Regions from separate parts of the Homo sapiens genome. Here region 2 is linked to region 1. The links are contacts of gene promoters, found by promoter capture Hi-C in human tissues and cell types (Jung and others, 2019). All regions are on one chromosome and are shown on one strand. Each heading gives the region's core, a stretch centred on a gene start or on the middle of the fragment in contact. The rest is flanking DNA. Distances are from core to core; before and after follow the strand shown. Region 1 holds the start of KCNG1 (potassium voltage-gated channel modifier subfamily G member 1). Region 2 has its middle 3.5 kb from the start of NFATC2.

Region 1 (4,352 bases), core at 382-2,881:
TGAGGCTCTTCATAGGGACTCTGCCATCATGGGTATGGGGGTATCAAACACACACTAATGAATAAACCTCTGCTCAGATTCATAGGGCAGGAACTTCCCCCACCCCACAATGAATCAGACCAGTTCCTGCTCCCTCCTCTTACTTCCCCCTGTACTTATCTCAGGGAGTCAGCAAAGGGGGTGGGGGCGTCTGTGTCTGTCTCCCTCTTCTATGTGTCTGTCATTTACCTGGGTAACTTTGGTGCCTGGCACCCTTTAAGTGCTTAATAACAGCGAGTGCTTAAGAAAATGCCTGCTGAATGGACAACCTAACTCATAAACCCCATTGGTGGGAACCTGCATTCCTCAGTAATGTCGGATCAGTGTTTCTCAACTCCTCCCCACCCTACCCCATCACCCGCCCCTAAGGAGCTTTGAAAAGATCTTTTCTTCCTATTCTAGAACCAATTCCAGCTTCCACACCTCCCACCTTGAGAAGGAATGCATTAGATGAACCAAGACTTCTGCCTATATACATGGGCTGCTACAGTTGGCCACCCCGGCAGTCTGCGGCCTCCCAAGCGGGGGCCTGGGTCTTAATCCTTACTTCTCTCTAAGCTGCATGAAGGGTGCCCCCATTCCATCCCTCTTCACTTCTCCCCAGCATAGCGCCTCCATAAATGTTTGTGAACTGGATGAATGACTGTTGAGCGCTTGGTATGATGAGCTGCTTACAATAGGTGCTCAACCAATCTTTGTCCAATCTATGAATGAATGAATGAACTTCACCCTTTTCCTTCCATACCTCCGGGCTGAGCCTCTCTCCCACATGGAAACCCTAAGGCTGAGACCACCACCTTCCTACCAGTTCCTGGGGGTGCCCAGTGAACTGTCTCAGTATCCCCAGTGCCTAGCACACAGTAGGCGCTCAATAAACGCTTGCTGTGTTCATAATGAATGACTCAATCAGGCCCACGGTGGGGGTGAAGGGGGGCTCCATACTGTGCCTAAGGATACAGTGAATGAGCAAGTGACACACACTCCCCCACCCCAATCCCTAACTCTCCTTCCTCCCAGGATCGGGGGAGAAACCTCGGCCCACAGCCGGGATGCGCCCCCGCCGGGGTCACCGCGGCGGCGAACGTCCCGGACTTCGCATCCCGGTGACCCCTTGGGATGAACCGAAGCCGGACCCGCACCTTGGCCGTAACAAGCGCGCTCCACGCCGCCACGCACCAGCGGTGACTCCCGAGTCCTCTGTCGCCCTGGCCTCCCCGCAGGCGGGTTTCGAGGCCCCCGCAGGGAGTTCAGGGCCACGGCCACGTGCAGCCGCCCCCGAGCCCGAGTTTGCAGGCTCGGGGTCCGGTTCGCGCTTCGGTGGCGCCCGGCGAGGCTGCAGCGCGCAAAGTTCCCACCTCAAGTTCCCGTCGCGGCGTCCCCGCCTCGGAGTTGGCCCGGCCGCGGCTTCCGTTCCCCCCGGCTGCCCACGGGTCCGGGGCGAGGACGCGAGAGGGGCCTGGAAGTCGCCCGGGGAGCCCGCTCTGCCTCCCGGAGCCGCCGCCAAACTTCGGTCCCGGGGCCCGGCTCAGCTCCCGCCCTCGGAGCCACGGCCGCCCCGTCTCTGCCTCCCGGTCCCCGCCGGGCTCCGAGTGCGCCGGGAGCGCGGCGCAGCAGCCGCCGAGGGAGGGAGCGAGGCAGGAGGCGGGACGGAGGGAGGGGACTGAGCGCGGGGCGGGGAGAAGGGGCGGGCAGCCGAAAGCGCAGCGCCTGGCCTCGCCTCGCTTCGGGACAGTGGCAGCGGCGCCACCGTCACGGGGCGTCCAGGCGCCCAATCGGGACCCCGCACCTTGGATCCGGGGGCCCTGGCGCGCCTGCTGGATTGCGCTCCTCGCGGCCAGTTCCTGAGCCCGCGTCCGGGACTGCTCGCGCTACGCCCTCCCTCCCGTTGCCTTCTTCCCCGTCTGCTCTCCCAGGAGCGACCACCCTGCGGCCCCTTCGCCTGCACGCGACAGCCTTCAAGGTCCCCGCGCTCCGCTGCCCTGGAGCTTCACGCACCAGGCGGCGCGGCAGCCTCCTAGGGTCGCGCGCCCTGTCAGCTTTCCCCGCGGTGCAAGTGCTCCGGTGGTCCCGGGTCCGCGCCCCTAGCAGCACCGCCCCAGGGTCTACATGTGCTAGATATTAAAACCCCACTCTCCGCTGCCCCGGGGCCGCGCTCCACGCGCTTACACATCCTGGGAACCACATGCGCCATGTCTCCTGCCTTTCCCTGGAAGTCCTGGAAGTCCAAGTGCACTGCTGCCTCTGGGTCCCTCGCCCCCCTACCCCGGGCAAATACTGCATCCTTGAGGCCCTCCACGCGCTGCTGCCCTGGAGCCGAACGCTCCAAGCAAGCTTCCACATCCTGGGGGCCATATATCGCGCGCCTTTTCTCGACCTCCTAGACCAATGTTGCCCTTGGGCCCTTCCTGCCACCGCCACCCAGGGACTGCCAGCATCTTGCTGTGCCAAATTCCTAGGGCCAGTACGTACCGTGCCAGGTGTTTTCCCTTCCAGTCCCGCGGGGCCGAGGCCCCAGAGCCCTCCCGGGCTAGCAGAGCCGCACTTCGTCGTCCACTCCCCTGGCCGGTGCAGGGCACTTGGACCAGGTCCTGGGGTCTTGCTCCCAGTGTGGCCGCCTAGCCTCGGAGTTGGTAGGATGCTGCACAGATGCTGGAGGTTGGGTTGGAGGGATCTATTGGGTTGGAGGAATCTACTGAGTTGGAGGGACCTATTGGTTTGGAGGGATCTGTGCTGCTGGCAGGGCTGGCCTCTTAGGGTGGCTTGCCTTGCACTCCGTTCCTCTTCTCCTTTCTGTCTCTTGCACTCCGTTCCTCTTCTCCTTTCTGTCTCTTGCACTCCGTTCCTCTTTTCCTTTCTGTCTCTACTGCCTTTGCCTATCATCAGAGAACCAAGAAAGGACATGAAGAAACCCTGCTGCCGACCAGCCTGAGGCCTTCTGCTTGAGTGGGGCTCGGGTTGGGGAGTCGTGGGTGCTCATTAAGTGGGTTAGGGTTAACCCTAAGAAATGAGCGCAGGGCACACTAGCCTGCGCGGCAGTCCCAGCCGGGTGGAGCATAGGAGTTCCAGGTTATAGTGCACTATGATGGCACCACTGCAATCCAGCCTGCGTGACTGAGCGAGATCCAGCCTCTAAAACAACAAGAATAAAAACACTGGCTTACTGGTGAGGTGGAGGCCTGGACAGACAAGGATCTGCCTAAGGACCTGTTTCCAAGAGCTCACCTTCTACTGGGGGCTTGGCAGAATTGGGAAACTGCTGAAATACGTGATTGCAGAATGAAGCCAGAGAGGCCACTTTAGATAGAATAATGGGGGAGGGCTCCTGTGGAGGTGATGGTTACATGGAGCCCTGAGCCAGAAGGAGCCCATCTGGCAAGATGGGAAGAGAGCTTTCTAGGTGGACAGAACATCAAAGGCACTGGCCTTCAAGCAGGAGAGAAGGAGGCATGTCTGAGAAACATCAAAGAGACCAACCAGCAGTGTGGGGGAGGGGCCTGAGTGGGGTGGGGTGGGCTTTTGTTGTCAGAGGGTCCCTGGATTACATATTGAGAAACACTCCTCTTGTGGTGGATCAGGCTTCTGCCTTCCTTTCCCATCTGAAATTTTTTTTTTTTTTTTTTTTTTTGAGACATAGTCTCTCTGTGTCTCCCAGGCTGGAGTGCAGTGGTGTGATCTCAGCTCACTGCAACTTCCATCCCCCTGGGTTCAAGCGATTCTCCTGCCTCAGCCTCCTGAGTAGCTGGGACTACAGGTGTGTGCCACCATGCCCAGCTAATTTTTGTATTTTTAGTAGAGACGGAGTCTCACCATGTTAGCCAGGCTAGTTTTGAACTCGCAACCTCAAGTGATCCGCCAGCCTCAGCCTCCCAAAATGCTGGAATTACAGGCGTGAGCCACTGCACCCAGCCAGAAAATTGCTCTCTATCTTGTTTTTGAGACAGGGTCTGACTCTGTCACCCGCTGGAGTGCAGTGGTGCAATCATAGCTCACTGTAACCTCTAACTCCTGGGCTCTAGGGATCCTCCTGCCTCAGACTTCTGAGTAGCTGGGACTACCACACACCACCATGCACCACTAATTTAAAACAAAATATATTTTTTGCAGAGACAGGCGGGTCTGGAACTCCTAGGCTTAAGACATCCACCCACCTTGGCCTCCCAAAGTGCTGGGATTACAGATGTGAGCCGCTGCACCTGGCCATGTTTCTATCTTTTTTACTTGCGTATTATCTGTGTCCCCACTGGGGACCAAGCTCCATCAGGGCAAGGACTGTGTGCTGTCTCTCCCCTCTCCAGCAGCTCCCACTCTGCTAG
Region 2 (4,781 bases), core at 768-3,267, 520 kb after region 1:
AAAACAGTGGTCTTCAACCCTTCCCACATATTAGAATCACCTGGGACACCTTTTTAAACTCCCGTGCTGGGCTGCAATCCAAACCCACTGAAGCAGAATTCCTAATTTTTTTTTTTTTTTTTTTTTTTTTTTTTGGAGACGGAGTCTCGCTCTGTCGCCCAGGCTGGAGTGCAGTGGCGCGATCTTGGCTCATTGCAAGCTCTGCCTTCTGGGTTCACGCCATTCTCCTGCCTCAGCCTCCCGAGTAGCTGGGACTACAGGCGCCAGCCACCATGCCTGGCTACTTTTTTGTATTTTTAGTAGAGATGGGGTTTCACTGTGTTAGCCAGGAAGGTCTTGATCTCCTGACCTCGTGATCCACCCGCCTCGGCCTCCCCAAGTGCTGGGATTACAGGTGTGAGCCACCACGCCCGGCCTGAAAATTTTTTTAAACTTCAGATGAATCTAAGGTGCAGCCAGTGTTGAGGATGAGAAGATTAGACGGGAGAGGTCTTAAGATCCTCGTGAGAACCACAGCTTGACCTCAAGTGATTCGAATCCTTCCCCATGTGCCAGGAGGAATTGAGGACACGCATTCTTCAGGGGAGCCATCTCAGCTCCATTAAGGGGATTTGTGCCAAGCCATCCATCATTCCACAAATATTTATTGAGCACCTGCCTGGCACTGCCACAAGATGTTGGGGATGCAACCATCAACAAGCCACAGCCTCTCCCTTCATCATGCTTATGCCCTGAAAGCAAAGTAGCACAGTTATGAACGGGGTTTTCAAAATTGCACTCAGACCAGTGGTTCTTAACCCAGACTACACATTAGAATCACCTGGAGAGCTGTTAAAATTTGTATTCAACGACCTGAGCACCACCAGACATCGATTTGATCAGAATGTTTGGGGTTGGGACTTAGGCATCAGTATTTTGTAAAAGCTCACCAGATGCTTCCAATGTGTGGCCAGAGATGAGAACCACTTTGGTTTAGACTCAAACTCTACTGCAGGGGCCTGGGGGCTGGCTCAGGAATCATTTCAGAGTCTTGGGCAGCACCTCCTGGTTGTCAGAGCATAAAGAAATTCCAGCCTTTGTTTCCTAACTATAAGCACTTCTGTGCCATGTGTATCCAACAAGCATCTTGGGGGCAGCTGATGCATTTAGGTGGAGGAAGGAAGAGTGAAGACCCCAGCTAGGATACTTATAGACAGGTATCTAGAAAGAGATGGATTCTTCTGGGTCCTTATGACAGGGACCCAAGGTCCAGATGATGAAATTTTGGCCAATAAACAAGAAAACCAGGCTTCCCCTGTGATTTAGAAAAGGAGAAAAGCTAGGAATGCCTCCCCACATCCTTTCTCGTCCCTCCATCCCATAATTATTAAGTGCCACTAAATCTAGTGGACATTTGTTGATTGTGCCTACCCAGAATAATTCCTCCCTTCTTCTCATAACAGCACCCCAGTGTGTTCCTTGGGGAAACTACTCTAAACATAATCTTGGTAGAGCTATCAACCCAGCTGCCCCACCTTCCCCAAGCAACGAAGTGGATGAATGACCCAGACTGCGCCAATCAGAGAATTTTATCTCCACTAACTAGCCTGAGATCCACTAAGGCAGGGGCTATGACCACCTCATTCGCAGCTTTATGTGCAATGGATGTGTGGATAAATGGAGGATGGATAAGTAGATGGATTGATGGATGGGTGAATGGAAGATGGATGCATGGATGGAAGATGGATGGATGGATGAATAGATGGGTGGATGGATGGATAGGGGATGGATTGATGGATGGGTGAATGGAAGATGGATGCATGGATGGAAGATGGGTGGATGGATGAATAGATGGGTGGATGGATGGATAGGGGATGGATGGAAGAATGGATGGATGATGGATGGAGGAGTGGATGGAGGGTGGATGGACGGATGGATGGAGGATAAATGGATAAATGGATGAATGAAAGATACATGGATGGATTGATGGAGGATAGATGGATGAATGGATGGATGAAAGAGTGAATGTGTTGCACGGATGAGTGGATCCATTAATCAATGGAAGAGTAGATGTTTGCCTGGATGAATGTAGAGTTTGACTCTCCTTAAAATCCTTAGAGTTTTCTTTAAGGGTCCTCCACCCTGAGGCTTACCCTGGCCACCCAAATGCTATGGCAAGAACCTAAATTCTTACCCCAATTCCACTTCCTCTTCAGATACCCAATGATAAAATGAGATATTAAAGGGAAGATCACTTTGCAACTGATCAAGTGCTACAAAAATTTCAGCCTGAGGCAGGACCGTTCAGGACAGTCTAACTGCCTTTGTTGTCCCTCTGAACAGTGGATATATTTTCAAAGCTTCTAGGATTTGGAGTCTGGACTATTGTAGTCAGAGTTCTTTAAAAGGAAGTGCTTCAGACTAGGTGCCAACCCATAAAAGAGTTTCTGCTGGACAGTGGGGAGTAAAAGGGTCTTCTTCCCTAAAGGTTACCTTGAAGGGTGGGAGTTTGGGCTGGGGGAAAGGCATATTTTCAATTCAAAAATAAATAATCTGTGCTCTTAGGAACAAGGTCCAGGAGCAGAATGCATGAGCTTTATGCATCGAGAGTGACTCTGGGAGGTGGAGGGATGGAGGTGGGATGGTGATCTTCACAGGGCATCGCTGTCAACTTTCTCTCTATCCTGTGTCTGACCTCCTTTGGACACCCTGGCCTCTGAGTTTTTCCCCAGCCTCTCCAACCGAAGTGCAACAGAAAGCTAGTGAAGCCACTGAGACTTTGAAACTTCTAGCACACATTGGTACTATTTGACCCTGGCCCAGGAACTCAGCTCCCTTCAACATGCACTTAACCCACAGTCTAATTACAGACTGAGGTATGTGCCGTGAAAGGCAAGGAGAATGTGTTACAGAGCTTATGTCAAGGAAACCTGACGTAGACAGGGAATTCAGATAAGGCTGCCCTAGGGAGGCGATGTTTAAGCTGGGACTGGAAGGTTGGTAGAAGTTAGTTAGGGAATGATGAGGGGAGGTACTAACAGAGCGATGAGGGAGTATGTGTAAAGGCTCTGAGGCAGGAGGAAAGTATGAAACGATGGAGGACCCGAAAGAAGACAGGAGTGGCAGGTGCTCAGGGAAGGATGAGAAGATGGTGTAAGATCAGGCTGGGAGGTAAGTGGGGCCCAGGAGACCATGTTGAGAGTTTGGGACCTGAAAGCAATTGGGAACAACTGGAGAGTGTTAGGCAGCACATGACAGAATCATAGACGAGTTTTTAGATGATGGCTCTGGGTTCTCTGAGGATGAGAAATTGCAGGGGCAAGGGTTGAAGCCGGAGGACCAAGTAGATGGTTCTTATAGCCGTCCAGGAAAGAGATAATGGGGGCGTAGACTACAGAGACAAGTGGTAGCCATAGAGATAAGAAAATGTGGAAGGATTCACAAGACTCATAGACTGTCATCCTTTGGTCCCTCTGTGAGTTACCTCTCTTCCTCTTCTAGGCTTCCTTAAAATGGAGCATAATTTGGGTCCACCTGGATAGAAACAGTCAAGAAGCACTGACTCCCGAAACGCCTTCAAGAAGCTCCTCCTACCACCCAAGGTGGCTCTGCGTCCCCAGGCTGCTTCAAGATGGCCCTGGAGTTACCCACCACCTACAGCTCTGCCTTCCTTTCCACCTTCTGGTAGAAAGCTCATTTTTATCTACAACCTGGGCCTCTCCACAGAAATCCAGGCTTGTATATCCAATGACGACCCAACATCTCCACGGGAGCATCTAACAGGCACCTCAGTGTGAATGTGTCCAAAACCAAACCCTACGTCTCCAGCTGTTCCTGCCTCACTGTGCCTCAACTCAAGTATTGCTCTGCCTGTAATCCAGTTCTCCAATCAAACACCAAAGAGTGGTTCTTGAGTCCTCGCCTTTTCTCATGCCCACGTGCAAACCCTCAGCAAAAGCAGGCAGTTGCACCAAATGTAACCCAAAGCCACCCATTTCTCACTAACTTCACTGTTCTTCCTCCCACCTCCCAAGAATTCAGGCCTTCATTATTTCTTACTTGGACAACTGCAGAAGCCTCCTCCCTGGACTTGCTACTTCTACTTTTGCCCCTATGTGGAGCAACCAGAGGGAGCCTTTAAAAAATATACATCTGATAAACCCTCCAGTGGCTTCCCATTAAATTAAAATTAAATACAAAGCCCTTGGTCTGCAAGGCCCTACGTAAGCTACGTCCCACCTGACTCTCCTTGGGTATCATCTCCTGCCATTCTCCCCTTCTCTTACTCCCTCTGCCACCCTGATCGTCCGCCTGTTCCTTGATAACGCCCACATGACCCCACCCCAGGGCCTTTGTACTTACTGTTCCCTCAGATATTGCCTGGCCACTACCTTACTTTGTTCATTTCACAGCTCAAAAGTCACCTGTTAGAGACCTTCCCTGCCTGTCCTAATAAAAATCGCATCCCCCGGCATTCTCTGTCTCCTCACCCTGCTTCATGTTCCTCATTGCCCTTTCCGCTATGGTGTATTTTATTCATATGTATATTTCTTTTATTGCCTGTTCCTTTCACTTGAATGCAGTCCCCACAAGGGCAGGGATATTTGTCTGTTTTCTTCCCTGGGATATCTAGGGTTGCCAAGTTTAGCAAATACAAATACAGGATACCCAGTTAAATTTGAATTTTAGACAATGAATGCTTTTCTTAGTAGAAGAAGTATGTCCAAAATAGTATGTGGGACAGACATAAACTAAGAAGTTATTCATTGTTTACCTGAAATTCAAATTTAAGTGGACATCCT

Evidence for each region. Contacts are between HindIII fragments. The study calls those that stand out against the background at their distance.
Region 2: a fragment that was not itself captured here is called in contact with the fragment with the promoter of KCNG1 in region 1 in 1 of the 25 tissues and cell types used here (lymphoblastoid cells).

The regions. Positions count from the first base shown.
Region 1 is chr20:51,021,476-51,025,827 of GRCh38, forward strand. It overlaps KCNG1 (potassium voltage-gated channel modifier subfamily G member 1), which reads right to left and starts at 1,632. Exons shown (of 3, transcript NM_002237.4): 1 at 1,395-1,632. RefSeq lists a silencer at 1,561-1,730. The HindIII fragment of the contact is 10,697 bases long and covers 1-3,766 here.
Region 2 is chr20:51,543,871-51,548,651 of GRCh38, forward strand. It overlaps a transcript of NFATC2 not described here. Among named protein-coding and RNA genes, the nearest start is that of NFATC2, 3.5 kb to the left of the region's middle. The HindIII fragment of the contact is 6,107 bases long and covers 1-4,781 here.